5 separate regions of the Homo sapiens genome follow, and all the other regions are linked to region 1. Evidence: promoter capture Hi-C in 16 types of primary human blood cells and fetal thymus (Javierre and others, 2016). All regions are on one chromosome and are shown on one strand. Each heading gives the region's core, a stretch centred on a gene start or on the middle of the fragment in contact. The rest is flanking DNA. Distances are from core to core; before and after follow the strand shown.

Region 1 (4,035 bases), core at 457-2,956:
CCGAAAGGCATTAGCTACCAAGGATGTGGGGTGTTTGTGGTGTGTGTGTAGGGGTGGAGGGATAGAAACGTCTGGAGGCACGGGGGTGGAGGGGCCAAGAGGGACAAAGGTGGAATTAGCTCAGAAGATAGGTAATGCCTCTCTCTCCAGGCCGCAATTAAAATAATATTTTAACAAAAGAGATTTTTTTTCCAAGTTCAGAAAAAAACCTATGCGGGGCGCGAGGGGGGTGGAGGAGGGAGTTGATAATGTAACATACACTCTTTCAGACTGTAGATAGGGTACCAGGGGATTTGGACCTTGTGACCGAATAAGAGCTCAGAATCAGTATTCGGACAGAGTAGGGGGAGGGGGCGGGCAACGTGTGGGTAGGAGGAAGGAGAAAGAGCGAAAGCTGGGATAGACTCGGCTAGACAGTTCCCCCGGGTAGCAGGATCCTCCAGGGCTCCAATTCCGGGGTGCAAGGACCCTCCCCGACTACTCCCGAGCTGCACCCCAGCTCGAAGCCACTTGCTGCGCAAAGCGCGCGGGCCCAGCCGGTCTCGTGTCCCCCGCCCGTGCGCCGCGTAACTGACTGGCACACTGAGCGCGCTCACCGATCTTGACTTGCTCGCGGTAGCTCTTTTCGTTGAGGCAAACCCCGCGGCCGTGCAGCAGGGCGTGCAGCGGCTTCTCCTCGTCCTGCCGGGGGAGGCAGCGCAGCCCCTGGGCGCAGCGCTCGGTGTAGACGCCGCACGACTGCCCCTCGGCCAGGGCGCAGGTCATGCAGCAGCCGCAGCCCGGCTCCTTGACCAGCTCGCAGCCCAGGGGGCTGGGGGGGCACATGGAGAGGGCTTTCTCGTCGCAGGGCTCGCAGTGCACGAAGGAGCCCAGGCTCTGGGCCGGCCCCGCATAGGCGGCCAGCAGCAGGAGGACCGCGGTGAGCAACACCATCTTCTCTTAGTCGCCCCCTTTACCTCGGGGTGGGGCAGGAGAGCGAGAGTGCAGGGATAAAGGGGCCAAGAGGGCCCCCGGAGATTTTTTTGTTTTTGTTTTTGTTTTAAAATTTCTGGCAGGTAGAGCAGGTGCCCTCCCCCAGACACTTGCAAAAATGTAGAGAGAGGTGGAGGGCTGGGGTGCCTGCGAGCAGGTCCCAGTTGCAAGAATTAAAGCCTTGCAACAGGTTGGGGGAAGCAGGGCAGCGCCAGGTGCACGCAGTGAGCGGAGGCCGGAGAAACCCTCAAGCCTGAGCGGGTCAGAATTATAGGGGAAAAAAAGCCACAAAATTGTTCACCCCCAAGCAACCACCGAAATAATGAGATCGGATGCAGTGGAGATGGCGTTGGGGGTGGGAGAGAAAAATGGATTTATCTTTAAAATTTTTGCTTAAAATCTAAAATACACCCCGCTTTCTAACCCTCAGCTGCCAGCGGTGCGCGGCGCCGCAGAACAGGTAAGAGGCGTTGGCTGCAGCCGAGAGGGTGGGAGAAAATGTTGAAATCAAGAAATTAAAAAACAAAAACAAAAACAAAAAAACCCCAAACCCTAACACCTCTTTTCTCCCACTTTGCCACCTCCTCTTCGAAATTCGCAGGTTCTACGCGAAGTCCGGAGAAGGGTGAAAACGGAGGAGGGGTAATGAAAAGGAGCAAAAAAGGGAAAAAGCCCACACTGCTTTGCAGCTCTTTCCTAGCTCTTTTCCCCTGCAGAAGTTTCCAAAGAGACTACGGGGCTCCGGGAGAGCAGGCGCTTTTAAATAGCCGGCCCCTGGCTGCCAGCCAGTTTGTAGCTGCAATTTGAGCTTCCCAACACCCAACTCAGGCAAGGATGCCAAGGAGCTTTGCAGTACAAACTCACACGGGGTGGGGGTGGGGAGAGGCCTTCTAGACACAAGGGGGCTCCCCTTCGCTCCCTGAACAGCGCCCTCCTCCCCTCTGAACAGCGCCCTCCTCCCCCCGGAATGTAAGAAAGGGGCAAGGGGGACAGGCTGGGGCTACCGAGAATGGGGAGGAGGTGGAGGGGCCAGTGGAAGACAGAGTTCTTCGGAGCAGGGTGAACACAATGAGGAGAGTAACTTCGTCTCCCCTTCCCTCCTATCCTTTAAGTAGTCAAGGCACAGGCTGAAGGGAGACGTATTTTCTTATTAGCCAACTGGATATACCGTGCCCAAGAAATCTTCCTAAGCTTCTGCAATTGACTGTATGCTGGTGTCTGTTTCCATGTGGGGTGTGTGTGTGTGTGTGTTTGGGGGACAGGTAGTGTAGAATGGCCAGTGATGTCTGGTGAGCTAAATTTAAAAAAGAAGAAAAAATTGAATTTCTCCCCTAAAAGTCTGGAGAAGAGGATTTAATCAGGGGGTTTCAGTACTCATGATGAAGAGGTGACCAGTTGCCTTCAGCTGCGTTGGCCAGGGAGGTTCTCTCTCTCTTTCTCTCTCTCTGTGTGTGTGTGTGTATGTGTGTGTGTTGTGTATCTGCAGGAATGGACATTCATACAACAGCATTATTGAGAGCAGTGAGTTGCAGAGATGGACACTTTGGAGGAAATGCTAAGTCTGAAAACCTTGCATGGTGGCCTAAAGTGTCCTTGTGTGTGGGGTTCTTAGAGGGAAGAAAGGTGGATTGGAGTGACACTTCCCTCTCTGTCACTTTGCAGAGGTATTTCTATTGGGCAGGGCCACATCCCTGGAGGGAGTGGGTGGCAGAGTAGCTGGAGGAGACCTTGTGATAGGTTGACAGGTTAGTTGGTGCTTATAGGCACATCCCAGGAATATGAGCTGACAGGGCCACAGGACCTGCTTGGAAGAGGTCCTGACCAGGAACCGAATCATGCCACTAGAACCTCTTTAATAAAATGAAAGAAAACTAAGGCCTTGAAATAGGAAGGTGGTGGTTTTAGCTTTTTCTGAAATTGACCTGAGTGAGCCATGAGCCTCACAGGCAAGTCAGAGAGAAATGACCAATGTCACTGCCCCTGCTGGGTGGACTTGGTGTGGGCTGTTACACCTTTTACATTGTGCTTCCTCCCTTGAGAAGTATTCTAACTTTCCTTTGGAGAAGGGGCTGCATTTCATGAAGTTTGCCACTAGACTGCACCCTTATCTATGATAAGAATTCTTTCTGGAGGACTGCTTTCAAGAAAATATTTTTTCTTGCTCGTTCAGTTCAGGAGCATCTCACTTTATGCCGTTAACACCCCCAGATCCTGATCTCTCTTCTCACTTATCTATTTGCCGAAAGGCACATTTTAAAACAAGGTTAACGTCTAAAGTTATGTCTTTGCCTGTATTGCCAAAGGGGGTTTAGCCACGTGGTGGCTGGGAGAGGGAGGAGCATTGTGTGTAATGATTAAAACAAAAAATAGCAGCAAGGCTCATCTTAATTTCTTCTTTTCTCAGTCTGAGGGCTTGGTAAGGTAGGAACAAATCAATATTCAAAACTTTGGTGGAAATATTTTAGAAGTGAGGGAAATCATGTGTTATTTTGTCATTTGTGTCAAGTTCAGACTACAAGAGTGGCAGCAGAATGTGTGCAGTATGTTCTCTTCCCTGCTCCTATTTCTTTCTGCACACCCTTAGCAGCTCAGCCTGCCTCAGGCACACTGGTAGCTTTTAAGATGATTGGGGGAAATTGTGGTACTCCTTCCAAAGAAACATGAGTTGCCTCGTTCCAGTCACCCTGTATTCTGAGAGAGATGGCCTCTAGTGACACCTCTTTTTGTGTAGCCGACTTCCAATGGCTGGATAATACAATATGTGAAGACAGGTAAAAGGAGGGGGGATCATTCACAGAAAAGATAAAAAGGGTAGAGAGAAGGGGGGAGGAGAATGTGGTGGGAGCCGGACCCTGGGGCAGAGCAGTACAGGGGCCATGGAGAGAGGTTACTCTGCAAGACTGTAAATGTTAAGCAGCTATTCTTTTTTTTTTTTTTTAATACTTTAAGTTCTAGGGTACATGTGCACAATGTGCAGGTTTGTTACATATGTATACATGTGCTGTGTTGGTGTGCTAAGCAGCCATTCTTTATCTCCACTTAGAAATGGGCTTAGGTTATAAG
Region 2 (4,035 bases), core at 1-2,500, 850 kb after region 1:
CACACACACACAGACATCCTATTGGTTCCGTTCTCTGGAGAACCCTGATTAAAACAGATTTCAATTCTCCCCAAAATTAGCTTATAGATTCAATGCACTCCCAATCAAAAATCCCAGCAGGCTTTTTTGTAGAAATTGGCAAGATTATTCTAAACTTCAAATGGAAATGCAAAAAAAATGTTTTGGCTATTTTAGAAAAATATAAAAACAAAAAGTTGGAGGTCTAACACTACCTGACTTCAAAACTCATGAAGTTACAATAATCAACACGCTATGGTGTTGGCATAAAGATAAGACACATAGATCAATGAAACATTAAGAGAGATTCTAGAAATAGACCCACACCTATACGTACAAGTGATTTTTGCCAAGGTACAAAGGCAATTTGGAAGGGAAAATACAATCTTTCAATAAATGCTGCTGAAACAAATGGATATCCACATGCAAAAAAAAGGAGCTTTCATTTATACCTCATGCCATGTACAAAAATTAACTGAAAGTGGTTCACGGACGTAAAGTAAAATGATAAGACTTTCAGAAGAAAATAAATGGTAAAATCTTTGTGAGTTACACAAAGGTTTCTTAGGTACAACACCAAAACAATCATCCATAAAAGAAAACAATAGACTTCAGCAAAATTAAAAACTGCCACACTTTAAAAGACACTGTTAAGGTAATGACAAAGGCAAGCCATAGTCTGGGAGGAAATATTTTCAAATCACATATCTGATAAAATAACTTTATATAGTCTATATTTAGAACTCTCGAAACCCATAATAAAAAAGGCAAATAAAAATTTAAAATGACAAAAGATACGAGACACACTTCATCAAAGAAGCTATACTGATGGCAAATAGGTACATGATAAGATGTTCAACATCAATAGTCATTAGGGAAGGCAAATTATAACCACAATGAGACACTACTACACATCCATTGGAATGTTTAAAATTAAAGGCAGTCCATACAACGTGTTGTCACGGATGTAGAGCAACCGGAATTCTCACACACTGCTAGTGGGAATGTAAAATGGCACAATCGCTTTGGAAAGCAGATTGGCAGTTTCTTAAGAAACTAAACATGTGATCCAGCCATTCCACTTTTAGATATTTACCAAAGATAAATTAAAGCATATATCCATGTATTTGTACTCAGATGTTCATAGCTGCTTTATTTGTAGTAGTCAAAAACTGGAAACAATCTAAATGTCCATCTGCAGATGAATAAATAAACAAATCATGTTTTACCATACAATGGACTACTGCTTAACCACAGAAAGGAATCAGTTATTGATATACACAGTACTATGAATGAATCTAAAAAAAATGCTAAGTAGAAGAAGCCAGATAACAGAGCACATACTATAAGATTCCATTTATCGACTGGCAGTAGTGGCTCACACCTGTAATCTCAACACTTTGGGAAGCTGAGATGGGTGGATCACCTGAGGTCGGGAGTTCAAGACCAGCCTGGTCAACGTGGTGAAACCCTGTCTCTACTAAAAAATACAAAAATTAGCCGGGCGTGGCGGCAGGCGCCTGTAGTCCCAGCTACTCAGGAGGCTGAGGAGGCGAATGGTGTGAATCCGGGAGGAGGAGCTTGCAGTGAGCAGAGATCACGCCACTGCACTCCAGCCTGGGTGACAGAGAGAGACTCCGTCTCAAAAAAAAAAAAAATAAATAAATTAGCCGGGCATGGTGGTGCGTGCCTGTAGTCCCAGCTATTCGGGACGCGGAGGCAGGAGAATCGCTTGAACCCGGGAAGTGGAGGTTGCAGTGAGCCGAGATCACGCCACTGCACTCCAGCCTGGGCAACAGAGTGAGACTCCATCTCAAAAAAAAAAAAAAAAAAAAGATTCCATTTATACAAAATTCTAGGAAATGCAAATTTATCTACAGTGACAGAAAGCAGCTCATGGCTGCCTGAGAACGGGGTGGCCTTGGGAGCAGGGGGCTGGGGCTACAAGGGCAAATGAGAAAACGTGAGGGTAAAGGATGTGTTAATTATCTTGATTGTGGTGATGGTTTCGTGAATAAATACACATGTGAAATTTACCAATGTGTAACTTTAAATGTGTGATTTGTTGTATGTCAATTATACCTCGATTTTAAGAGGAAGAAAAGAATATATAGAACAGTCACTATGCCCGTTTTCATAAGGCTCAGAAGTAGTTAGCAACACAAAGATTTATTATGCATAGTTTATGGTGAAATAGCACTAACACACACATTAAGCATATGATGATAACAGAGAGATCTTTTAGAATTTCTCAGATGTTCTGCCTCCCATTTTTGGATGGTCTTTACTGCAGACAGGGGTCATATCTGCTCTTCCACTGATATTTCCCTGACCCCTATTGGTCCTGTCCTACTCACTATAGGCAGCAATGCTCATAGCTCACCACCCAGTACCTGCCCTAATGTGAAGTATCTGCAGTGAGATGGAAAGTACTGAAGGGGGTGATCCCCTGAGCATTATAGATTATTCCAGAAGGATGACGTTGCTCATATGGCATGTCAACTGCTAGCTGTCTGCTGTAAGTTAGTAAGAGGATTAACACCATCCTGGAAGTATGGCCCTGAGAATATACTATAAAATAGCTATTGGAACATGTACTATGACCTAGCCATGATAAGAGGTCAGCAAATTCTGGCCAATATACCACAGCATCTGCCATTTGATAAACTTAGCATGACAAGGGCAGTGCTGACTCATGTTGGTATTCTAGCCCATAAAAACATCCTAGGAATCTGGGCAGAGCTGTCTGTAGATTTAAACCCTGATGTTTCGGAATGTGAGAGGAATGAAGGGGCCCACACAGGCTTATGATCTACAGCCAGGAAGCCTTGCTGATTTACAGTGGCCGCCACATCTCTGAACCTTCAGCATTCATCCTCTATTCCAGTGGTCACACAATGCACCAGGTATTGCGTGGTGCCTGGTATTGAGGTCTAACGTGATAACCTGGCTCTTGCAGTGAAACTCAACCTTTCATATTCATTCATTCATATAATAAATATCCATTAGGTACCTGCAATGGCAGAGTACTTTGTTGTATACTGGGGTTACCAGGATGACTAAGACAAGCACTACCCTCTTGGAGGTGAAGTTCACGAAGGGGAGATGGACATTAAATAACTGGTTACATGGTAAGTGATCTGGTGATAATAGTGGTGAGAGCTAAATGTATAGTTGGAAACAAGAGCCTGGAACAGAACAACGTGTGTGGTCTGGAGGATTGGGGAAGACTTTCTGGAGAAAAGGACATCAGAGATGACACCTGAGGGATGAATAAGAGTTCTTCAGGGTAATCAGAGGTGGGAATTTCAGGCTCAGGGAAAGGAGAGAAGAGCACTTCTTGAGGAATGAGAAGCATGCAGCGGAGAGAGGGAAGCAGGACAGAAGACAGATAACAAGGCTCTGCAGACTGTGTTAAAGGTTTGGGGAGAATGGAAAGCCATTAAGGAAGTCGCATTTTACCATCTTTATTACACTGTAAATTCCCTAGAGCACAGGGATTATGTCAAACTAAAAGAAAATAGCCTATCACCCACAAAATTCTACCTGCAAGTAATAATTCTAAAACTTTGCCCAAGGTTCTCTAGGATGCCTAACTGGGGTTCTCTATTTATAAATCTTTTCTAAAATGCCTGATCTCACTTTGCAATTTTGTTCAGGACAATAGATCAAATTCCACCAAACCTCTTATTTGCAGATGAAGTAGCTTACAGAGGAATGCTGTGTCAGTTAGGGTCTAGAAGTTAGAGAGAGGGAATAGCAGAGCTGGAGGGGAGAGGAGAGATCATCCAGGCCCACACATTAGAAGAAGCTTTCCCGGGGCAAAGGAGAGGGCCTGGGGCAGACCCAGGCATCCCAAGCCCTAACCCAAGTTCTTTTGACTCTAGGATGTTCCTTAAAGATTGTCATCTGGTTTTGCTTTTTCCTTATCACCCTCCTAAAAGTCAAACACAAAAAAACACAGTAACTAGAGGGTTCAAGATTGTTGGATTTCAGCTAATCCAGGTTGTTTTTTGA
Region 3 (4,035 bases), core at 571-3,070, 800 kb after region 1:
CAGAGACTAGATGGTCAAAAACTTAAATTGCAGAAGATATAACATCACTTTCTGTGCACCTATCAGTGTGCATATGTAGACAATCACTTCCAGAAAGAGGGGAGACTGGGCAGCTGGCTGGATGTACTGGGACATATTGAACCATTTTTTGAATGTTTGGGGCTTGGCAAATAAATGCATTGTGCCCGAAGCACCTTTTTCCCTTCACTTAAAACCCATGTGTATTGGAAAGGAAATTTAATTCTTATGTTTCTGATTTGCCCACATTTAACCCATCAAAATCCAACTTGGTGGGAACCATTGGATGCCCATAAGCCTTCTGAACCTTGTGTAATAAACCACTTGGAGCTGTCTTTTCTTTGGATCTCAGAAACCACAATGAGGAACTATTTTCAGTGGCTTTAGTCAGGGGAACAAGATGGGAGCTTGATTTTGCCCTCAGATTTCACCACAGCCAACAAATTCTAACTTTGTTCAGATGCATTGTCACGCCTTGTATTTACTTCTTGCCAATAACCTGAGGTCTAGTAACCACTGTTTTTGTGAAAGTCAAACAATATGGACTGATATTCAACTCCAAAACGGGCTGAGCACTGTGCGGGTCTCTCTCACTGGGTCTCAATGTCCTCACCGGTGTTAGGCAACTCACTTACCTGAACCTTTGAGTAACTCTTCTTCCCTCTGCACAGTCTAATTATACAGGAGATACTGTTCACTCATAAAGGATAATGGATTAGGATGAAAATATTAAAAAAAAAAAAAAGGAAATAAGATCCTGTAAATGGGCTGAATGTGGTGGCTCATGCCTGTAATCTCAGCACTTTGGGAGGCTGAGGTGGGCAGATCACTTGAGTCTAGGAGTTTGAGACTAGCCTGGGCAACATAGTAAGACCCCCCCATCTCTAAATAAATGAATAAAATTTTCAGCTGAAAATAAATTTGCAATAAATAAATAAATAAAGAAATATAAAAGGTCCTATAAATGCAAAAAGATCATTATAACCTATACACTGACAACATGGATTATGGGAACATTTGCAGAATATGACTGAAGTTCACATAATCTCTATACCCACCCAGATGTGTGTCTTTAGACTACTTCAAACCTAATGTGGAAATTGAGATTGTGTTTGGCCAACTTAATCACCTACATCAGTCAGAGGAAGATGAAAGAAAAGTCATAACTAATATGCAAGCAATTATTATCCAAATTTGGCTTTTTATTTCTAAGAACCATAGAATTAAATTCAAACATTTAATCCCTCTCTGCTTGGGCCTGTTTCACCAACATGTGGGACAAAGAGGCAGAAAACAATTTATTTCTAGGCCACCTGCCGCTGTTTTCTTGCTGAACTGGATACGTGGTAGGAGAAGAAGCCAGGTGGTCTGACCTGTTCACAAGTAATCAGGAGCTAGCTGTTCTTCCTGCAGCAGAAGCCAGAGCTCAGAATTTCCTGACCCATGCCCACTACATTCTCAATGTGGTGTTTCCTTAAGATCTGAGTGCTCATACACATCATTCCCGGAGCTCACATGCCTCCCTTTCAAGGCACATTGTGTCTTTCTTCCTGAGTCCCACAACAACATATGAAGGGGAAAATATGGGTATAAAAGTCTTTTCCCACCTTTCCATTGAGACCATGGTGATATTTATGCCCCTTCATTTCATCCAGAACCCAGCTCTGGGACATGTGGCTATGAAACCTTCCATCATTTTAAGACTTTTGAAAGTACAATTTCCAGCAGAACAGTGGTTTTTATTGTTTCTCTCTCGTTTCTGAGCAATTTAGGCCATCTAAAGAGAAAGACCTGAAGTTTCTCTTGTCAGTTCAGCCCAAAAATGAGGGGAAATGATCATTTGAAATCCAGAAAGAGAAAAAAAAATTAAAGAAAGAAATTCTTGACTTGGAAGAGATTACATATCTGACTAGAAATAAAATGGGATACAGTGAAGTTAAAAACATGAATTCCTACCACATTATCACTAACATGAGCTGTTCATCCTGAATTGCCTCCAGCTAGGGAGCTGTGGTAGGAAGGGTACTTAAGGCTTTGAAATCAGGTCTACCCAGGTTCAAATCACAGCTCTGCCTTTTCCTGCCTCTATCCCCTCATCCTTATAAGTGTCAGCTGAAGAATGATGAAGTCATAATTTTGGAAAGGAGATCTTTATTTCTCATAAACGGTTGTAGCCTGCAAGGTAGCCATTCTGACAGGCTGGGAAGTGTAGCCTCCAGCCAGAAGCTGGAAAATGGCACTTTGGTGGTGGTCGGGGTAGGCATAAGACAGGAATTTATGCTGAACAGCTTGGCTAAGCATACATATTCAATAAACTATAGGAGAAATCATGAATATTTATGAAAGGAGTAATATGCACAGGCACAATTGAGCTCCATGCCTCTTCATGGGTGGCATGTTCAAAAAATGATGGCATTACTATTTAAAATAGTAAGGACTTGGAACTAACCCAAATGCCCATCAATGATAGACTTGATAAAGAAAACGTGTCACATGTACACCATGCAATACTATGCAGCTATAAAAAAGAATGATTTCATGTCTTTTGCAGGGACATGGATGAAGCTGGAAGCCATCATTCTTAGAAAACTAACACAGGAACATAAAACCAAACACTGAATATTCTCACTCATAAGTGGGAGTTGAACAATGAGAACATATGGACACAGGGAGGGGAACATCACACACCGGGGCCTGTTGGGGGGTGAGGGGCAAGGGGAGGGAGAGCATTAGGACAAATACCTAATGCATGCTGAGATTAAAACCTAGATGATGGGTCGATAGATACAGCAAACCACCATGGCACATGTATACCTATGTAATAAACCTACATGTTCTGCATTATGTATCCCAGAACTTAAAGTAAAATTTTAAAAAAAAAAAGATGGCATTAGAATGATCCAAAGGTGCAGTTTTTGACTTTCTAATATCAAAAGGTAAAGCACAGAACATGTAAACCCTCACTGTGCACCCTCTGTTGATGCCAGAACCACTCCATGGTTGGTGGTCTCTTATTAGGAAGGAATACATTGTAAAACTGGTGAGTTATCATGTCAAAACTGCAAAGAGAGGGAGAGAGTCCTGTCACGGCCTCAGATAATTGGCTAAAGGTAATAAAGGAAGGAGTCATCCCTTTCTTGTTTTCTAGAGCTGATTTCTGCTTACTCTAGGAAAGAATTCTGGTTAAAGGTTAATAACGAAGGGGCATACTGGGATGTGTCTGACCTCCCATCTTGTCATGGCTAGGAGCTCAGTTTTTAAGGTTTATCTGGGGTCCCCTTGGCCAAGAGGGAGTCTATTCAGTTTTTTGAAGGACTTAGGATTTTATTTTTATTTCTCATGAGCAACAAGGCTTATGATCTATAAAAACAGGGAAAATAATACCTTCTTCATAGGGTTGTCATGAAGATTGAATGGACTATGAATTTAAAGTATCTGTTACAGAGTTGAAAGGTCACAAATGATAGCTATAAAGTATCTAGCCCACAAACCTTGCTGTTTTTCCTGGAATTTTCATTGGTTACACCTTCAAGTTAAAGATTGAAAGTTACTATTAAAAGTCAAATATGTGACCTAGAAGAAATAACAGCAATCTCTTTCAGTGATTATCATCTTGGTATATGTTAGCACCTAGCCTAGTTATCTGATATGATAGGGGAATAAGATAGAGAGATTTTAATGGCTAGAAGGAAAGGGAAAAAAGCTTAGAACATGGTATGCTGAGACAGCAAATTCAAGTGGGCAAGAATCGTTGACACTCCAGGAAGTGGGATGCCAAATGAGGGTGGGAAGCCAGAGGAGAGGAGAAGAGACTTTCTGCATGAGAAGACATTTCATAATTTTGCCTAGGAGCCCAGGAAATGTGATTGCCACCACCAATTTATGCTTGCCTCACTAATATACCACCTCCCCCAGGCAAGTAACTTTGCCTTCATCTGCAAGTCTGCCTGGAGCCTCATTTCTTCATGAAGCTCCTCACAACAATGTACATGGTAGTGAGGCAGGAGAATAGAGTCT
Region 4 (4,035 bases), core at 1,122-3,621, 780 kb after region 1:
TGGTGCAACTACTCCCATCATGGCTGATTTCAAGCTACCAGCATAATGTCACTGAATATGGATTTGGAAAGAGACACACAATAAACTTGAGCTGCTGCAGCTGGCTCATGGGATATCTGAGCAAGGACAACTGTATACCCTGAGGCAGCTGAACAGAGAAGGGTTTTGGGCACAGTGCTGAGCTGCTCTAAATAAATTACAAAAGTTTTTGAGGCTTCAGAGAGTAATGAGAGGCCCAGAAGAAAGAGGAAGCTGCAGAGAGCCAAAAAAGGAAAACAAGGGAAAAAAAATGTCTAATAGGAATTTGGGGAGTGAAGTGTTAAGAGCTGTGAGCTGTAGCTTCCCCCGAGAGAACTATAGAATCAACAGTAAAAGATCTCCTTATCATTAATGCATTGAAGAGCTGAAATTATTTGGGAGGTTGAATTGAAGAGCCAAGGGAACTGCCAAAGAAAAACAGAACCACAAGTGGGTTACAATGGATTGTAGAGTGGCATCATCAGAAGGGGCCTCAGAGATCCTGCATTCAAACAGAGTTATTTAACAGATGAGGAAACTGAGCCTCAGAAAGGCCAAGACCATCCTGGCATATAATGGCAGAACCCCAGTCTAGAATGGGTTTCCTGACAAGGGCATTCATTCATTCAATAAATATTGCTTGGTGCTAGACATCTATTGTGAGCACCACAGACATGGTCCTTATCTTCAAGGACTTTACCATCCACTGGAAGAAAGAAGGATTAAATAGCTTATCATAGTATGTAACTATTTTTTCATGTGATGAGTACTGTGAAGAAAAAACAGAGGGCACTTTAATAGACCTTACACAAAGACCTAATTTAGCCCAAGGGGTACAGAAAAGCATCTCTGGGGAAGTCTGACCCTGAACTGAGAAGGAAATGAAGAACATGAATCTGTCAGGTAAAGATGAGGGGAAAGAGGGCTCCAGGTAAAGGGACTTCAGACACAGTGGCTCTGCTTCAGGGTTTGGTCCCAAACAAATGCCTCTTATGTAGTATATCTTCTCTTTCATCACTAAACACTCTGAAATTTGTTATATCCTCTAAGCCCTGAGTTATAAGCAAGATGATTAAACTTTGTCATAAGGTAGTATCTTGAATTTAGGTGCAAATATAAGTGTGTGACTAGCTGTTATCCTATACTTTAGAATGAAAACTGGTGGGTGCCTTGGGCCTGGGCAGTGCTCAACTCCTGTCAATGGGAGGCAGCAATGCACCCTGTAGATCCCAGGCCAAAGTGAAGCCCTTGCTTCTCTCTGTGGGCAAAACTGAGATAAAGGAACACATTCTCCAGGCCATGTCATTGTATTTTTACCTGCCAAAACCCATTGCTGATGTCCCCATGCCTTCCCTAACAGGTGGAGGTGGACAGCATACCCTGGGGAACCTAAAAATTCCTGAGCTATGGCCCATTACCCTCTCCACCTGTGGGGTTGAGTCTGAGCCATTTCTTTCCCCCAGGCTTCAGAACCCCTTCTCCCAGCTACATTCCTCCCATCTTGATCTACGGAGGCTGGGAAGAGACATGAAAGCTTGCTTTTGCTCTCACGTCAAGTAAGTCCATCAATTATGCTTTCTAATGTTTAATTCCATTATTTTATCATCAAATAACTGAAGCCAGATTTATCTTCAATTCATTATGACCTCTCCAGCCCTTAACTTTAGACAAAGCAAACACTACCAAAAACACCCCGAATGGACTTGCTACAAAAATTTGGGTAAATTTTATTTTTCTCATCTCTAAATTAGATGCATAAAGCCAACCTTTGCAGAGAAGTGACTGTAAGGAAGAACAAATAACTTACTTGTCAAATTTCTGGAGGTCTTCCTGTAGCACCATCTGGAGAGCCCAGTGCTATAATTCCATGGATATGATTGTGAGGTCTTGTGTGAGGAATGTCTTCTTTCAGGCAGCTAGAATTCCAGCCCACTGATATTTCCATGGACTTGGCATGTTGACATCCCTCGGACTCAGTTTCTCTCCTTTGCAAAATAAGATAAATAATATGGTCTAGTCAGCTGGCACCATAAGAACAATTCTTAAAATAATTTTGTGCACTTTAGAAGGAAAGACATCAGTAACATTCAAGTTTTTTGGCATTTTTTTTCCATATTGAATCACTCCAAGGTAAGGGTTTTTAAAAATCTAAGTGGGGAAATCAGCAAATATATCCACACAAATCAGTATGTTTCTTTTTGGCATATGGCATTACTATGCATTTTGATTTTAAGGATAAGCAGTTTTCATCAGTATTTTTTAAATGTGCTGAGTCTTTTCTCTCAGGCTCCTGGATTCAAGGGGCTGAATAGATGGGAATTCCTGCTGTCTCTGGAGAAGAGCTTACTTCCTTTCCCAGACTTCCCAACCCCACCCAGGATCACTTGTCATTGAGATTAACCTTTGTGGAGAGGCACCCAGGAGCGCAACTCTCTGGGAGTGTGACAGCTTTTTCAGGATATCAGGAAGTGGAGCGTGTGTGTGACCCAGGAGGGACACACATCCATGTTACAGAAGAAGGCTGAGGCTGCAAAACATGCCCCAGAAAGGAAGCGGATGTTACACCTTCGCTACCTCGCTGCTCTGAAACAGGAAGACATTCATTTGTCCTTCTGGGCATTCAACATTCCACTCACAAACTCCCCTCCTGGAGTCTCTCTGTGGTTCAGTGAATCGTATGTTCCAGAAACCAGCCCTTCCCCCACCTCAACCCAGAGGACTTACTAGTTCTGATGTGAAAGGTATTGATTCAGAAGCTCTTGATGGCTGAGGGCTCCCTGCTAATGCCCTTCCCCCTAGTGCGTTTATTAAACGCCCTCCCGCCTAGTGCATTTGGCAGGTCTCAGAATTCTGCTTTCTTGTGTTCCCTTCCATTTTCTTCATTGTAAGCCCCTCCTCCGTCAAATAAACCCTAACTTGGGTTTAAGACCTTCTTGGAAGATGATTCTATACCCTCCCTTTCTAGACCTCCACAACCCTCACTCTCATTCAAATGAGAGAATCACTAAAGGGCTCCTTGTCCTTGCCCCCCAGCAGACCCTCATAAATCCACAGTGAGGTTTTTTTTTTAATTAAAGCGTCCAAATAATTAATGATCAACTCCATTTGTGCCATAGAAAACCAAAATGTCACACGGTTGAAAAGACCCAACCAAATAATTCAGTGTACCCTATAAAGCTTTAAAAAAGCGGAGCCCAAGAGGCCTGCATGACTGGTTTCTGTGCTGTCTGAAAAGCTTGGTTGGGTTTTGGGCACTTGATCGGATTCCAGGAATAATGTGCCCTGAGCACAAAGGGCTCTTTTGATGTGTCTGTGCCATAGCTCCTCCCCTTTTCCTCCTCACTTTACCTGGGATACACATTCTCCTTGTCTCCTAAGTTGGAAAAAATAACCCATGGAAAAGAGGAAAAAACAGCAGAGGGAAAATCTAGGCTGGAAGTGGGGAAAAATGCTGCAGTTCTTAGTCTGAGTTTGGTTACTAAAGACTAGTTATTCCAGAAGGAATAGAAGAAGTGACATTTATACATTGTCTGTGACCAGACAATGGGAAATCGTAATGATAAGATGTCTCTTGTTTGAATGTGGTCCCTTGAGCTAAAGGTAATGAGTGAGTCTTCAAGCAAGGACTTGCCACTTTCAAACAGTCAGAGGTATGGCAGGTTACTAACCCTAGAAATCAACATGAATTTAGATGCCTAATCCAGCCAGAGAATCTTATAGATAGTGAGTCCATCCCGTTGGTTTTCCATGGGTACCAGAATATTCAGGAAAGATGGAAAGAAACAAGACAGAACTTCCATTGCTAGGATGTCCTTAAAAAGTGGCAGAGCAAACTAGAGGCCAGGAGTGTATAAGCAATGGCCCTGAGAGATAAGGATTGTGGGTCTAGCCCCAGCATACAGATGTCCAGATTGGCAGCAAACTGCAGTAAGCTGGTGCTAATACAGGGCTATTTTTGTCTGTCTGGGCTAACTTGAAGAGGATGTTTTTTCCTTCTAGCCTCATTCTCCTTATCTA
Region 5 (4,035 bases), core at 493-2,992, 530 kb after region 1:
CACATCAGCAGCAAAGGAGGCAAGATGCAGGCTGGAGAACATGAGATCACAGATGTATGAAACGTGCATAAGACAGCCTCTGGCACATGGCAGGTCATCAGATGATTCGGTGTTCTCCCCTCCTTTTAAAATTTCTTCATGCCAGTTTCCCACAGTCTCTCCTAATTTCCTTCTCTAGAGGCTCTAATTTTGTCTAGGACTGATTTGGCATTCCTGACCATCTGTGGAAAATGATGCCTCCCAGAAGACACCATTCTTTAAGACCTTCCTGTCGCAATCAGGACAATAAGCTCTCTCTTAAGGCCAACTCCCACCTTCACCCTGCACTTGTACCTTTCCTCATCATCACTGATGCTTCCTCCTTCTTCATTGAGCCCAATGTTAGGATGTGAGGCTTTTGAGCCTCCTTGTTTCATTATTAATGGAGCTTGAGATTTTGTTTCTTGCTTTGGAAGCTACATTGCAAATAAAAGCAGGGGCAGGAAGTGAGATCTGATTTTCTGTCTGGTGCCAAGGCTATGGTTAGATCTTTGAGGCCAATTTCCAAGTGACTTTGGATTGGAGTCAGAATACGTGTTTGAGGTAAATAGAGAAGAGAGCTATCTCTCAAGTGGGGCAATCTCAGAGACTGGTGTCTTGGAGAGATGTTTATTGGCTAAATAATAATTCCTTGCATATGTTCAGCATTTCACAGCTCACCAAATACTTCTTTGAGTATTATCCCATTTGATTCTTGAAACAATGTTCTAGGGTAGCTGGGAAAATAGCATTGTTCCCATTTTATACACACTCTGCACTCCTCAGTGAGGAGAGCAGAACTTATGGGACTTGTTCACAGTCGTTCAACCCTTTAGTGTAAAACCAGGACTGAAACCGAAGTTTTCTGACTGACTTGTGAAGATCATATGAATAAGGCAGGTATATAACTCACCTGAGAAAATGTCTTCTGCCTTTATGTATTTAGACAGTGTTAGTCTCTGTCCTCATTTCCTTTCTGAATCCTGGGTCTGTGTCCTTTTTCTCATTCGCTGTGCTGGAAAAATAGATAAAAGGAAGTGATTTGGAGAGAAGGAAGAGAAGAACGTGGTTCTTGATCTCCGGGGACTGGTTCTAAGACATGCTTCTGAGGCTGAGGTTGATGCTATTGTGAAACCCAGCATGAAGCATAACCTTGTTAGGTCTAACCAGCAGAGAGTGGGAGAACAGTGTCTCTCTTCACTTCTGCTTCCTTTCCTCCCTCCTTTCCCACCCTGCTTTTGTGATTTGTTAATTATTTGAGGCAAGGGTATTGGAGGTGTCTAGGCTCTGTCTTCTGACTCAGTCTCATCCCTCCCTGGCCCATAAAAATGTCTCAGAGGCCTTGTTGATCTGAGAATATGAGGCAAACCAACCATCTCGCCCTTTCTAGGCTTGTACATGGGTTTCGGAACTGTCCCCCCATAAACCCTCCCTGTGATCCCACCCACCCAGCCACTATTGCCAGCCCAACTTACTGGAAATCTCTGTTCCTCTAAAGCAGACATTGGCTTTGTTCCCAGAGCCAGGCAAAATGGAAATGCTTTCTAAGAAAAACACAAACAAGAGAATTACATCCTGATCTGACCAGTTGGAAATTTCTTCACAGTATAATTTTATTTGTTCCTCATCAAGGATGCTTTATCCCTCTTTCTGCAAAGGCTGGCCTGGTAGGTCAAGAAAGTAACTGATACTTATTTTTTTCTCTAGTCACTAAAAAAAAATCAAACCCATATAAATTGCTGTCAATTCTGGTGACTTAGAATACAGTTATAGTTCTGGTATCATAAATAAGCTGATATGATGGTACTGAAAGAGCTATAGGGTCCCCCTTCTTGAAAGATATTTAAAGATTTGAGAAACTCCGAAAGGCCTCTGGTCTGTGGCCCTCACTCCCCTACTTCACCCATAGCTCAGATTATGTTCTTTCGTAGCGTGGTTATTGGATTCCACTCAACTGCCACCGTCTTTGGATAATGCCATCCAAGAGCATGACTATTCTCCAATGTCTAAGTTCTCCAAAAACCTCTTTGTTTTCCCTTGACCACTGCAGTCCAGTAAATGCTACATTATGTTAAAGGTGACCTCATTTGACCTTCAAATCATCTTTAAAACTGGCCTTCCCACAGTAAAAGAATTTCAGACCATAGACTGCAACCATTGTGTTTATCTCACACAATATTGTTTTGAAGGCTTCTGTCAATGTAACTCAAGTTTGAAGCACTAAGCTGGCACTTGATATATGCTGCTGAACAGTCTAACTACAGGATATACTATCTATTATTTTAGTAGCAATGGGAGGTATATGCCAAGCCTTGTTTTAGATGCTGCAAATGCCAATGTGCCTATGAACAGTCCAGCCTTAGACTCTAAAGAAGCTCTTACTACATATTCATATTCCAGTTCATAGATCTTTCTCCTAGACTTTGATTTTCGGATTATTTAATTGTTGTATTATTACTCAATTTTGTATCCATTTTTGCTTCATCTCTTTCCTTTGTCCTAATCCTTTGGAGGGAATAGCAACAGCAATGGTGAGGAGAAAGAGCCCAAGAAAGGTAGACTTGAATTCTGCTCTTAATTCATTCACTCTGTGATCACTGACTTCTCTCTTTACTTCTCTTATCTCAGCGAATTTATATGTAATATTAGGAGAATAGAAATGCAAGGGACCCTAGGAATAAAATAATTACTTATTGAAAATAAATAGTCAAAGACGACTATTATCCAGGTGTTAGAGATGGAAAGGTAAATCAGATTTGGTCCCTGACCCTTAGGGGCCAGTCTAGCAGGAAAACAATCTTGGAGCCTAGAGCTTTTTCCTTGTACCCAGCACATGCCTTAAACTTCGTGAGTGCTGGAGAACCAGATGTTAATTTGGGTGTGGGATTTTGAGCTAGTTCTTTTACCATAATTGCTATTTCCAAGTGGAGCTGATCGTCTTTCTACTTTCTCTTTCTAGGGGAGAAAGACATATTCTAGTATAGATCCTAGGTATTCCCATCTGACCTATAAATTGACTTTGTGATACAGCAGAAAAGGCATAAATTAAAATATTATCTTCTGTTACAAATTCCATAGTTTTGGATAAGTCATGTCCCTTTTTGTGCCTCATTTTATCCCACTGATAATAAGTGGTTTGAATTAGATGAGTTCTGGGGTCCCTCCTACTTTGAACATTCTTTGAGTTGAAGATCATGGCCACATCACTCAGCCCTGCTACTGGTGCCCAGGCTCTGGCCTTAGGAGTATGTGTCTAAGCTATTTGGTTGTCTCTTTTTCTGCCCCTTTCTCCCTTCAATCCATCTCTAATATCTGTACACCAGATCCACTGCCTTGGGCCTACTATATGTATTAGGTTGGTGCAAAAGTAATTGCGATTTTTGTCACTAAAAGTAACCGCAAAAACCGCAGTTACTTTTGCATCAACGTAATACTTCTGCTTCTCAGTTTCTCAGTTCCTTTTTTCTGTCTAGTGCTTTTCTTCTTGAAATTAGAATCGTTCTCTCCCTAGATTTTACCAACCCCCCTGATTTGGCAGAGGACTCTCAGCTTGAACCATATCTTGCTCCTGTGAACCTGTTTTCTTCAAGGCTTTGTAGTCTCTATTTTATAAGCAACACCTATGGACTTCTGAAAAAACGACTTGAGAATGCTGTTTTTTATGTTTTACACTCAGCTCCCTATAAATTACCATGCCTTTGTATTTTGATCATTTCTATTACTGTTCAAGGTTACATAACCTCATTCTATGCTACAGACTGAATGTGTTTTTGAAATAAAAGGCAGGGGAAAACTGTCATTAGAGGTAGTAAAATATAAAGCTTTTTTATTTCTTTCACAGTCTCCCTTGACTTGTCATGGTCGTGTTGTTTTTCAATTTGCTATTTCATGTTCTAAATAAAGAAAAATTGAAATGATAAATTACTAGCATAGATTTACCATTCATCTTGATATTGTGCAATGACACTTTTAAATGCAAACTAAGAGTATTTCATTCCTATGAGATTACCGAAATCA

What was found. The method cuts DNA at HindIII sites, captures the fragments that hold promoters and counts their contacts. A CHiCAGO score of 5 or more calls a contact.
Region 2: a contact is called between a fragment that was not itself captured here and the fragment with the promoter of IGFBP5 in region 1, in 1 of 17 cell types (M2 macrophages). The highest score is 5.3, in M2 macrophages.
Region 3: a fragment that was not itself captured here is called in contact with the fragment with the promoter of IGFBP5 in region 1 in 8 of 17 cell types (fetal thymus, megakaryocytes, M2 macrophages and 5 more); the score reaches 11.0 in fetal thymus.
Region 4: a contact is called between a fragment that was not itself captured here and the fragment with the promoter of IGFBP5 in region 1, in 2 of 17 cell types (M0 macrophages and endothelial precursors). The highest score is 6.2, in M0 macrophages.
Region 5: a fragment that was not itself captured here is called in contact with the fragment with the promoter of IGFBP5 in region 1 in 2 of 17 cell types (erythroblasts and megakaryocytes); the score reaches 5.7 in erythroblasts.

Annotation. Positions count from the first base shown.
Region 1 is chr2:216,693,843-216,697,877 of GRCh38, forward strand. IGFBP5 (insulin like growth factor binding protein 5) reads right to left here and starts at 1,707. Exons shown (of 4, transcript NM_000599.4): 1 at 597-1,707. The coding sequence starts at 933. It overlaps IGFBP-AS1 (IGFBP5 antisense RNA 1), which reads left to right and starts at 604. Exons shown (of 6, transcript NR_187138.1): 1 at 604-919. The HindIII fragment of the contact is 8,390 bases long and covers 1-2,161 here.
Region 2 is chr2:217,548,976-217,553,010 of GRCh38, forward strand. All of the region lies in intron 2 of DIRC3 (disrupted in renal carcinoma 3), which reads right to left. Among named protein-coding and RNA genes, the nearest start is that of DIRC3, 240 kb to the right of the region's middle. RefSeq lists an enhancer at 2,479-3,047. The HindIII fragment of the contact is 5,153 bases long and covers 1-3,827 here.
Region 3 is chr2:217,494,303-217,498,337 of GRCh38, forward strand. All of the region lies in intron 2 of DIRC3 (disrupted in renal carcinoma 3), which reads right to left. Among named protein-coding and RNA genes, the nearest start is that of DIRC3-AS1, 210 kb to the left of the region's middle. The HindIII fragment of the contact is 3,797 bases long and covers 1-3,719 here.
Region 4 is chr2:217,476,556-217,480,590 of GRCh38, forward strand. It overlaps DIRC3 (disrupted in renal carcinoma 3), which reads right to left. Exons shown (of 13, transcript NR_186301.1): 3 at 1,826-2,003. Among named protein-coding and RNA genes, the nearest start is that of DIRC3-AS1, 200 kb to the left of the region's middle. The HindIII fragment of the contact is 1,643 bases long and covers 1,551-3,193 here.
Region 5 is chr2:217,219,294-217,223,328 of GRCh38, forward strand. It overlaps LOC105373872 (a long non-coding RNA gene), which reads right to left and starts at 1,564. Exons shown (of 3, transcript XR_923875.3): 1 at 1,494-1,564; 2 at 932-1,033. RefSeq lists an enhancer at 1-79. The HindIII fragment of the contact is 4,190 bases long and covers 1-3,837 here.